Regions from separate parts of the Homo sapiens genome. Here region 2 is linked to region 1. The links are contacts of gene promoters, found by promoter capture Hi-C in human tissues and cell types (Jung and others, 2019). All regions are on one chromosome and are shown on one strand. The core of a region is centred on a gene start or on the middle of the fragment in contact, and the rest is flanking DNA. Distances in the headings are between cores, read along the strand shown.

What was found. The method cuts DNA at HindIII sites, captures the fragments that hold promoters and counts their contacts. A contact is called where the count stands out against the background at its distance.
Region 2: a contact is called between a fragment that was not itself captured here and the fragment with the promoter of EVA1C in region 1, in 3 of the 25 tissues and cell types used here (aorta, dorsolateral prefrontal cortex and thymus).

What each region holds. Positions count from the first base shown.
Region 1 is chr21:32,409,469-32,415,287 of GRCh38, forward strand. It overlaps EVA1C (eva-1 homolog C), which reads left to right and starts at 3,238. Exons shown (of 8, transcript NM_058187.5): 1 at 3,238-3,545. The coding sequence starts at 3,386. The HindIII fragment of the contact is 9,144 bases long and covers 1-5,819 here.
Region 2 is chr21:32,640,050-32,645,868 of GRCh38, forward strand. It overlaps SYNJ1 (synaptojanin 1), which reads right to left. Exons shown (of 33, transcript NM_203446.3): 25 at 5,597-5,740; 26 at 4,919-4,957; 27 at 3,361-3,408; 28 at 2,046-2,084; 29 at 1,847-1,917. Among named protein-coding and RNA genes, the nearest start is that of CFAP298-TCP10L, 31 kb to the left of the region's middle. The HindIII fragment of the contact is 6,056 bases long and covers 1-5,819 here.

The sequences.
Region 1 (5,819 bases), core at 1,988-4,487:
ATTTTACACTGTTCATCCCTCTTTGAAACATATATTCCTTTTCCCACTTTTCCGTCCTATGAGTTGTTATAGTGCCTCAGAGTTAAGGTATTTGACCTACAAAGCTCTTAGAAAAGTGTGGGGTCCAGAGAGAAAGATAACTGAGCAATTCAGTTTTCTCGCAAGATTCCAAAATTCTTAAAGAGATCAGATTAGGACCAAAATCTTCTGATTTAACAGTGAGGGGCTAAGGGACAAAACAGAGGGAAGCCAGGGAGACGTCCTTCAGACCCTCTCATAGCCCACGACTGCCCGGTCGCATTGTGCTGTCCATCTGCCTTCTAAACATCCTTCCATTGTGGCCGCTTCTCCTCTTCTTTCTGGGTGTACAGCGAGCACATCAGCCCAAGCACAGCCATAAACCCCTGACTGCACTCTCTCCCTCACCACGGCCATCTCCCCAGACCCACTTTTCTTTTTTGAGACGGAGTCTCGCTCTGTCTTGCCCAGGCTGGAGTGCAGTGGTGCAACCTTGGCTCACTGCAGCCTCTGCCTCCCGGGTTCAAGCAATACTCCTGCCTCAGCCTCCCGAGTAGGTGGGACTACAAGCGTGTGCCGCCATACCTGGCTAATATTGTATTTTTAGTAGAGATGGGGTTTCACCGTGTGGGTCAGGCTGGTCTTGAACTCCTGACCTCAGGTGATCCACCCACCTCGGCCTCCCAAAGTGCTGGGATTACAGGCACCAGCCACTGCAGCCGGCCACATGCCATATATTGTTTATCCATTCATCCACTGAGGTTCTTCCATCTGTCAGCTCTTCTAAATAATGCTGCAAGGAATATTGGTGCATAAGTATCTGTTTGAGTCTGTCTCTGCTTTTAGTTATTTGGCACACATACTTCCAGGGCCTGCTTTTGACTCCTCCAGTCCATTTGCACTCAGCAGCCGAGAAGGACTTTTTACCAACACACATCCAATCACATCACTTTTGTACTTACAGTTCTTTGCTGGCTTAAGATAAAAGACGGAAATTCTCACCAAAGTCTCCAGGGCCCTGAGCTCTGGCCTGCCTACCTCCAAGTCCCCTGGCTCTTCCCTTTGCTCTGCTCCAGCTGTCTAGACTTTTCCCCATCCTTCAAGACAGCCATGCTCCTTTTGGATTTCAACATGCTGGTCCCTTTTTCTAAAATGTTCATCCTCCCGCAACACCCGGGTTTTGCTAGTTTTTGCTTGGCCAATTCATCCTCTAGCTTTCTCATCCATCTTGCCTTAAAATGCTCCTGAATATCTCCCTTCCTCCCTCGGGCTCAGCTCCTTCATTCCTCGCTTCTGCTCCCATGGTTCCTGTCTTTCGTGACTGTCCGTTCACGGGGCATTATTTTCCAATGTCTGTCTTCCCTGCTGTAATAGTAACTGTATGCATTCATCCACTGGAGTTGCTTCCATCTTTTGGCCATCATAAATAATGCTGCAATGAATATTGGTGTGTAAGTATGTTTGAGTTTCTGCTTTACCAGGTAAGAAAGCCTGGGGATGCTGTCACAGTGAGTAACAGTGCCCACTTAGACATTTGGAAGCCAGTGCAGACCCACAGGGCAGTGCTGCCCACTCCCAGGACTCGGGAGCATGGCTGCCTCCCTGTGCCAACACTGTCAGTCACTAGCGCAGAACCTGGCACACGTTGGTACCAATTCATATCTAAACTGGATGAATGAACAGACAGAATGGAAAGTACAGGAGGGACCCGAGTTTTGGACAAACATTACTTACCCTGTGGCTCCTAAGTGCTGGGCATCCTTACCCACACTCCCAGCTTCAGTTTCCCTAACCTAGAGAGCGCACACTAATATTTATGTTCAAATGTTATTGGGGAGGTTGAGTTTTTATTTAATATTTGAATGTAGATTTTAAAAATCATTATGCCAGACAGGCTGGGCCTCACTCGATAAACACTGATGTTTAGCATTTAACACACTTTTCCCCAGACTGGAAGAAGAGGCCGAGATCCCAATTCGGTGACCCAGCCCTTGCTGGAGTACTAGGTGGTATCTAATGCCATCCACCCTTCCGGGATCTTTACGGCCCACCTCTGAGTGGGTCCCACGGGGACCCTCAGCCGCATTTTCTTTCTGCAGGCCTCCCTGCACACTCTGGGGCGTTCGCAGCTCTGGAGCCCGCGGGGCAGTGCGTCCGGCCCCGCCCTGGGCCTCATTATCTACGTTTCCGCGTCACGCCCGCCGCGAACTTGGCAGGCCCTCCCGCCGGGTTCGGGAACACTGTGTGCCTAGCGCCCGCCCTCCTCCCTTCCGCCGGCCCCGCGCGATCCATAGGGTTTGGGTCGCTGGGCGCCAGGTACCCGCACCCGGCAAGCAGCCACGGAGCCCCTCGCGCACTTGTCCTCGATACCCTTGAGTTGGGGCTACGCAGGCCACTCCTAGGCCACTGGCTGGGCGTCCGAACGTGGGTCACCCCGCGCACAGTCTAGAGGTTCAGAAAGATGCTGTGGCCCACTTTAAAACAAAGCCCAATTATTAGCGCTCGGCGGCTGTTTGCGCCGGTGCAGTGTCAGATCCCCCAGCGCTGCGGACAACCAGCACCCAAAGGAAGCCGAGCTGGAGCTAAAGATCCCGGCTCCGGAGCCATCTGACCGGTTTTGAGACCTCCAGCTCGTCGCCGTCCTGGCTGCGAGAGCTTGGGCACGGCGCCGGGGCTCAGTCTCCTCTTCTGTGGAATGGCGATAACTGTATGTGCCGGGTGACTGCACGTGGCGCGCGGCGGGTGGCGGGGATGGCAGCGGTGCGATCCCACGCCTCCAGGACCCCACCTTCCTGCGGCCCCCGATCGGCCCCGCCCCGGGGGCGCCCCAGCTGCACGCGCGGCGCTGGCTCCAAAGTGCGTCACGGGCACCGGCCGCGCTCCTTCTGCCGCCAGGGCGAGGCTGGCACCCGGCCAGCGCGGGCAGGGCCACGGGTGCCCGGCTGTTTCCCGGGTGTGGAAGGCGCTCAAGGTGCGCGGCCCGGGGCGCGCTACTGGGGGCGCCCTCCGCGGTGGGCAGCGCGCCAGGGATCGGCCTGGGCAGCCGCGGGGCGCGCGAAGGCTGCGCTTTCCCTACGGCCCCCCTCGCTTCCTCCGGCACGGCGGCAACGGAGATTTCCTCTCGGGGAAACTACGCGGATCCTTTTCGGGGATCCTCGCCCCGCCCCAGTTCTCCGCCCCCTCCCCTTTGCTGGGGCGCCTGGGCTGGCCCGCGCAGGGGAGGAGGCTCTGGCAGCCTGGGCAGGGAGGCGGCGGGGGGCCGCGGAGCCGCTGGCCATCGATTCTCCCCGCCATGTGACGCCGTCCTTAGCCCTGCGACCCCCAGCGCGTCCCGGGCCTGCGCCTCCGCCCCGCCGCGCAGCGCACGATGCTTCTGCCGGGACGCGCACGCCAACCGCCGACGCCCCAGCCCGTGCAGCATCCCGGCCTCCGCCGGCAGGTAGAGCCGCCGGGGCAGCTCCTGCGCCTCTTCTACTGCACTGTCCTGGTCTGCTCCAAAGAGATCTCAGCGCTCACCGACTTCTCTGGTAAGAGCGCCCTCCCTGGCTGTGTGCCCCCGGCACCGCGGAGCGCCCAGGTGAACCCTCGACTGGGGGCAGCCGCACCAGTGGACACGGCGGGGTAGGATTAAAGTTGAGGCGTGCTCACAGACACTTGTCTGGTGTGAGCCCTTGGCATATAGATGGCTGCGAGTGAAGTGGCGACGGGGGACTGCCACTCCCAAGAAGGAAGGGTGTGTAATGTATTCAGAGTTTCTCGCCCTGCTGTTGACCTCGTCAATTTCCTAGCATTAGGGACCTGGTCCTGAGCCACGCTCGTTCTATGGAGGCTCCTTAAACTGAGCCCTGTGCCGCGCCCAGCGCTGTAAAATACACGTGTTGTGGTCGGAGGCGTTGCGCCGCGTTTGTCACCCGCGTAGCCCGTTTGCCCATGTAAGGAGACTAGCCCAGGGGACACTTGACCTCGAGTCCACATTGGCAGGTAGAAAGGGAAGCCCGCGGGGACTGGAGGTCTGGTGGAAAGGCAGTGAGGGATGAGGAGATACTTAGATAAGAGAGAGGAGCCTCTCTGCCAAAGTGTACCAGGGTCCTCCCTCTCCAATTCCAGTTTCCTTCACAGAAAATAATGACTTCCTACTCTCGAATAAACTAGGAGGCTTTTCTTTTTGGGAATCGTGATCCAGGCTCTCGCAGCGGATCTCAGATAGTTCTGAGCTTACAGGTGTGACGCCCCAAAGTGAAAGGGATTTCTAGGTTGACGATAGCCATAGGAGCACATGCTTAAGTTAGCGCTGCAGTTGCTTAAGGTAACACATGTCCTTGCCGCTGAAGCACACCTGGATCTCCCTCTGGCAAGGCTGGAGGCCTTCAGCCTTCCCCAGCCCAGCTTAGGGAGCAGCTCTGAGCCCCATACTCCTCCTTCTCCAGGGATCTTCTGCCAAGTTCAGGCTTTGCACAGTCGGTCCCTATCGGGTCCTCAGTGCAGAGTCTTTTGCAACATAATGGTGGTAAAGGGAGTCCTCCTCAGTCCTGTTTGTGCAGTAGGCTAGTACATAGCAAAGAACAAGGGCAAACCAGAAGTTGAGATGGGGTTCTAGTTTACTTACAGAGAATGTCATTGTTAGTGGAGAGCCCTTAGGTCAGAGGTTCTTTGCTTTGAATATGTAATATCAAGGCAGTATTCCTACCTAGCAAAGGAAGCCAAGATAAGGCCTATTTGGCAAGCCACCCACGGCCCTTAAAATCAAGCATCCCAGGATCAGAACTCTGTGGTAAGAGTTGTGGGGAAATGCATCAGACTTTTCAAGGGCTATTAACTTTTTTTTTTGTACTACTAGAACTTTCTTGGCTGCTAGAAAAGCTCTGTATTAGCTGATTTGAGCTATGGAAAGCAGTTCTGAGTTCAGCCACCATCTAGCTCTGAATTCTAAGGAAATAATTGAAAACTGACAAGCCTTTTTGTGTTTGTGACATCATTGCAACTGAACAAATATTGCTTTAGGCAAATTGCAGTGTAACCATTAGATTGTTTTCACAGATTATAGACACTTAGAGTTCTGTTGCTTTAGGGAAGCAGTTGCAATACTTGTAACAGTCTATAGATTACCACCCAAGTTTGGAATTGTCTGTATCTAGCAACTGTTACATACAGTGGAGTTGAGCTATCAACTCCTTAGTAAAATGAATGATTTGATACATGTTATTCTAAATAGTATAAATGATAAAAGGCATTTTCTTCTGCTTTCCATACGAACCTAAATTCCAGGGTTTCAAACTCCCTGAGCCAGCAGTAGGTGGTGATATTGCCACCCACAACGAGCCCCCATTTTTCCTCTCATCAGTGATGCTCTCCAGAGATCTGAAGATTAGGCAGAACATGTCAGAAGCCTTTTGGGGAGAAGAAAGGAAATATAATGTCCTCCCAAACCACTGATGCACTTAAATTTAAACCTTAATTCTATATCATGTGAGGTCAGGGAAATATTAGAAAAATCTCAGGGAGAAAGAAAGATCATCTTCCAAAGTTGGCTCATTTGACTTGGATTTTAGCCGCCCTCCCTCTGCAAATTCCTAAGCTCCAAAGATGACCATCTTATTGTTCGGTTCAGTGTTTCAGCTGACGCGAACCCCATGTGGCCTCAAAGCTTGCCGCCTGTGTTCCTGGGACAGTCGGTCCTGTTCCTTTTTATGAACTTGAAGGAGTGCATAGAAACCAAAACTGAGGCCTGGAAGGAGACAGTGGATCCTCCCCTGCAGAGCCTGATCACAATAACCAGGGCTAGAGAGCAGTGTTTGACAATG
Region 2 (5,819 bases), core at 1,744-4,243, 230 kb after region 1:
GGTATTATTTTATCATCTCTATTTTAAATTAAGATGAAGAAATATATACAACTTGCCCAAAGCCACACAGAAAGCAGAGCCAGGATCCAAACTCAGGTCTGACTGGCTGCAGGGCTAGGGTTCTTAACCATGTGCAATGCTGTCTTTATGGGGAAAACTGGGATGATTTTAAAATATACAAGGAGATAGAGAGATACATACCTGAGCAACTAGGAGACTTTGGGGAAAAAACACCCTGAGATTTGTTTTTTTTTTGGTTTTTTTTTGAGATGGAGTCTCACTCTGTGGCCAGACGGGAGTGCAGTGGCACAATCTCTGCTCACTGCAACCTCTGCCTCCTGGGTTCTGGCACTTTCCTGCCTCAGCCTTCCGAGTAGCTGGGACTACAGGCGCCCGCCACCACACGCGGCTAATTTTTTGTATTTTTAGTACAGATGGGGTTTCACCATGTTGGCCAGGATGGTCTCGATCTCCTGACATCATGATCCACCCGCCTCGGCCTCCCAAAGTGCTGGGACCACAGGCGTGAGCCACCGTACCTGGTCAAGATTTGTTTTTTAAGAGATGGGGTCTTGCTATGTTGCTCCAGCTAGACTTGAACTCCTGGGTTCAAGCGATCTTTCCAATGTAGTCCCCTGCGTAGCTGGGACTACAGGTGCATGCCACTGCCACCCAGCCATATATATTGCTTTTAAACACAGAAGTACAACTTTTGAATGACTAACTCAATATTCCGAATTAAATACACTGAAAGACTCATCAGTGAAAAATATTTTTTCTATTTTCATATGTTTGCTGAAGGATCTAAGCTAACAATATTTATTTTAAGCAAAATATGAACTTTTAAACTCACAAAAATCCTGACTTTCTTTTCCTATACTTATGGTATTCAACAGAATCAAGAAAGTTCTTGTGCCAAGTGTGGTCATGGGATCAGTGAATGGCAAATTTCCCTTTTTTTGAAAAAAGGAGGATAAATATTTGAAGAGTAATATTACATATAAAAAAGAACCTTCAGATTGTTAAGTGGACAGCTACAACAGAAAAGACAAAAAGCTTCTATCTTCATAGGAAGTGGTTTCCTCAGTTCTCACAATCTTAATAATCTTAATTTCTAGGTACAGTAATAGCTCTCAGTTTCCTACTCTTCAGATATGGGCCTCTCAGTAGTCCCAGCTCCTACTGGACTAGCCTAAGTCACTGATTACTGGTTTCTATTTGCTCTTTCTCTCTGTTCTTGATTACCTGTTATAGTCCAGAGAAAGTTTTCAAATAATAAAAAACCTATGTGTATAAGAGAACATATAAACATACAGAAAAGACACATTCATCAGGTAGGGAAAAATCCTGTAACAACATCTACTCTCCTATTTCTAATACCTTTACGGAATATGATGAACCTGATCAAGAAAAAAACCAAAAAGAGAAAAAAACCTTTAGAACCAGTTTTACTATACTGAATTTATCATTTTTTTTTCTGAAATGTAATTAAAATCCTTTTTAATGAAGGATTACTTTATATCTTCATTAATTACTCAGGTAAAATGATAAAAAGCTGCCCAAATCCATCATTTCCTCATATACTGAGACTCTTAAGATATTTATTTAGTGACCATAATTGTTTTAAGTGTATCACTTTTATCCAAATAATGAAGTTTGTTATTTTTGAAGAGTATGTTAAAATAATGTTAGAGTCGGAAGATCATCAAGTGCAATTCCCTCATTTTAGAGATGAGGAAATTGAGGCCTTGAAGGGTCACATGATTTCTCCAAGGTAACAAAACTGACTAGTAGTAAACAGGACTTAGAACCGAGACCCCTTGGCCCCAGGCGAGGTTTTACCTACCGGTCTGGCTGTACTGTATCCAGCAGGTCCTGGGCCTGCAAGTCCTGCTTGAGGTGAAGGCTGACTGCGTCCTGGAACAAAGACATCATATCATATATTTAAGTTTAAAAAAATAAACAAGAAACCATGTACTTATATTCCAAGTGTCTATTTCACGGTCCAGTTTTAAGGGTGAATAGCTACATTCAAGTGTTTTTACCTATATTATCTTTCCTTGTTGTTCCAGGGCTTTTGGGTGCTTTGAAGCAAGAAGGGAAAAAAAAATTAGTTGTAAGTTAACAATTAAGCAATATTGCATAACATCAGCTTGCTGTTCTGCTTCATTACCAGCAGAAATGGGGGCATGAGATGGTAACAAAACAAAGCACTTTGCTTTGTATAATGATGAAGGGTATTATCAGTCCTGAATGAAATACTCCAAAAGAGAGAAAAATTACAATATTTAGATAGACCTTTATGGGAGACAAGTGGTGACTTTAGTTTGATATCTCACTCATGGGACCACTTTTAGGGTGGCATTCCCCATAGAACTCTCTCGTGAACCTTGAAAACATACAGTCAGCTGTGTGAATGGTCACAAGATGCGGCACTGCTGCCCCTTAGAGTCTGGCAGACAAGTGGCTTCTGAGCAACAGACAGGACTGCATTTGTCAAATTACACAAGAGGCTCCTAGTAGCAATACTTTAGGGCTTCACGCTGTAGATGTCACTGTGGATAAGGTTATCTTATGATGAGATCTTTCGGATTTCTATAACAAAATCCCATCATTAAGACAGAAGACAGGCATATGTTATTACCAAATATCTGCCTTATGGAAGACAGTGTTAAAAATATGTTCAAACTCATTAGAAAGGTAGCTGAAGGATAAAATGAAATAAATTACTCTTGGAGCCAAAAGGAGTAGGAGTGACTATCAAGGGCAGCATCTTAAATAAACTCTCCTTTTTGTAAAGAAATTCAAGTACAATTGTTATAAGAAATACATCAGCCTTTTAATAACTAAAATCATAACAAATGGCCTCTAGTCTTAAAGGTCTTTTAAACAAATCTGGCTCAGTGCTAATCTATAAAATAGCTATGTTATCTGAAATCAACTACAAAATACTATATTCTTGGATCTGAATTAATAGGGTTTAATTATAATCATTAATTTTTAAAACTTCAGATTAGTAAAGTACATTTCTAAATATTTTACTTATTCTGAAAAGAATTTTGAAGACATTCTTAAACAGTAATTTCACAACCTGGGCATATATAAACTATATATGAAACAGAGTACAAACAACATTAAGGATCTCAGGGAAATTAAATGGATATCCATTAGAAACTATAGGTGACATAGAATGAAGAGAGGAAAAAATACAAGGTATACATAAGGAGGGGAAAGAGAAGTTTACAGCTGGACCAAGAAAAGATTTAGTATGCCTGCAAACACTGCGGGGTGGGGAGGTGGGGCGCTGACACTGAGAAATAAAATGAGAGAACCACTTCTATAATGCAAGAGTCTTGTTACCTTCCATCTCTCTCCTAGCTACCCCAGGACTGGGAGGGGCTCCAATACCTTTTTAGAGAAAGAACAGAAACTATATATTGTTCAGGGCCCACAGCACAGAATGAAAGGCAGGCACACAAGACAATTTCCATAGTAAACTCACTTTTGCAAAAAGGCTCTTTTATTGCTTTAAATTTCTTCAAAGATATCAATACAAACCAAAGTGACTTTAGATGCTTGGCCCAAATCTGAATCCTCCCTTTACTCAAACAGAAGAGTAGAAACAGGATGACAGTTTTCTTTTTATGTATGCAATTACTACCAGTAGGGAATTTAAAAAATATGTTTAATGAAGACCTTTGCTTTAAAAATCATCTTACTCCTTATATCCAGAGCAAGTAAAAACTCTGATATTTGATAGTCAAAAGGAAAGAAATCATAAATTTCTATGAGACTACGTAAGTCTTTTGAAGTTAGTTTTTGATGCATTAATTTTAAAAACTCTAATGTACTATAATGACGTAAAGGAATTATTGTTTATAGGATGAAAAAACATGTTGCAAACACTACTTACAAAAGAATTATGAAGGGGAGCAATTTTTAAAATTAAGACAGATTTCACTGTAATCCACTGGCTTGCCTAACTTTTGACAGATTCATTTTAAATTTATTTTCTACAGGATGTTTTCCTAATTAAAGCAGAAGATAAGCAAAAATTATCATGGAAATTTAAATAAAAGCAGGAGCTTGAAAAGGGAAAAATTAAATGTTTTCTATAAAAGCAGGAGCTTGAAAAGGGAAAAATTAAATGTTTTCTGTAGGTCAATGGAGAAATGATCACTTAGCTGTATTCGGCAGAAGCTGTAATGCTGAAATAATTTAGCTATTCTTATCACACGCAGTCATTAAGATCTACACACAGGCAAAGTCAGTCTGTAGTAAGACCTGAATTGCTCAGCCATGTCACTAGGCAAGCTACAATAGAAACAGACCAGGCTACACATGCACAGTGAGCCTTAGTAACACTGGATTTGTAAAAGTTCTTCTGAGGAATTGTGAAAACTCATCTCATCTTTTCTTGAGATTTAGATTAAATAAACTTGTCAAATGTATAACTCCAACTGAGCTCTGTGAGTTTTCATGTAAACCAAATAAACTATACTTCAAACAAAAAGTGACCCTTTGTGAATAAAAATTTCCTTATGAAGAAAGGAAAAGAAAATCATACAGTTCTTTGCTAATCCAAAAGCTTTTCCACTAGAAAATAAATGTATCACTAATCAGATACTTGGGAAATGTTCTGTATTTACTGTACCTGAATGACTTTTAAAATTAATATAACTTTTGGGTATTAAATCTTTGTAAATGAATCGACCACATTTATTAAAAAAAAAATTAGGCCTGATGAACAATCCCAGCCTACCTGGGAAATGAAAGCCTTTATTAGTTTTATTTGTGGATTAGTTTTAAACTAGAATGTCATTCATTTTGACTTTTATCAAACAAATCTAAAATGTCTTTCAGGTGTAAAACATTAATGAACCACGATTCACACATGCTAACAAATGTAAATGGTTACCTCCAAATTCCTTTCTAGTGGGTGCAGGACTCCTAGCCCCTTATAGTTCATAAGAAAATAGGCAGCAGAAAGGAAATGACATTAAATACAGAAGTGAAATGTCAAAGATTGCTATAGTATCCATGACATCAAGTATCATGCAGGAATTACATATTATCTACGTACTACAAAAACTATTATTCAATGCATATGCTTATAATTGAAGTAACAGCACTATATTTAATTTAAAAGAACATTAAACAAATACATACAATTGTACATTAATACGTATGCTCTCCAGTTTTATTATACTTTTACAGAAATTAGTACATTTTAATTATTTTATGCTTATAAATCATCCAGAAATGAGGATTTTGAAAAAAATTAAACCTAATTTTACCTAAGAACAGTTTACATGCCTAACTAGATCAAATTAGCAAAAACAAAATAAACCTCTCTGGCTGGCTGGTGAGAAGGCAGCTAAAGGCAGCTGTGAAAACACCTTAGAGGAATCTACTCTGCAAACACTCTACCTTGTCTGTTGCGCCTACCATGTTCTTTAGAGAAAAGCTAAGAAATAGCAATAATGATAGAAAAAACTGTAAAATCCAGAAGCTAGAGATTGGAAAACATGCAAAACATTTTAAAATAGAGTGAAGAATTTTACATCTAGCAGAAATGGAAATAAAAGGTTGTCACCTGAAGGCGGAGGAGGTCTCTGTGGGGGAGCCGGGCGTGTGGGAGGGGCGACCGGGCGGGGCGGCGGCGGCCGCTTGGGCTCCAAGGGCTGGGCGGGGTCTTTCTGCGGCAGCGGCGTTGCTGGCTGCGCGTCAATAGGAGAACCTAAAAAGCGCACAGGAGGTAAGAAGATCAGCTTCTAAGTAGCTGTTGACAGAAGGGAACAGTCCTTCATATATATGTG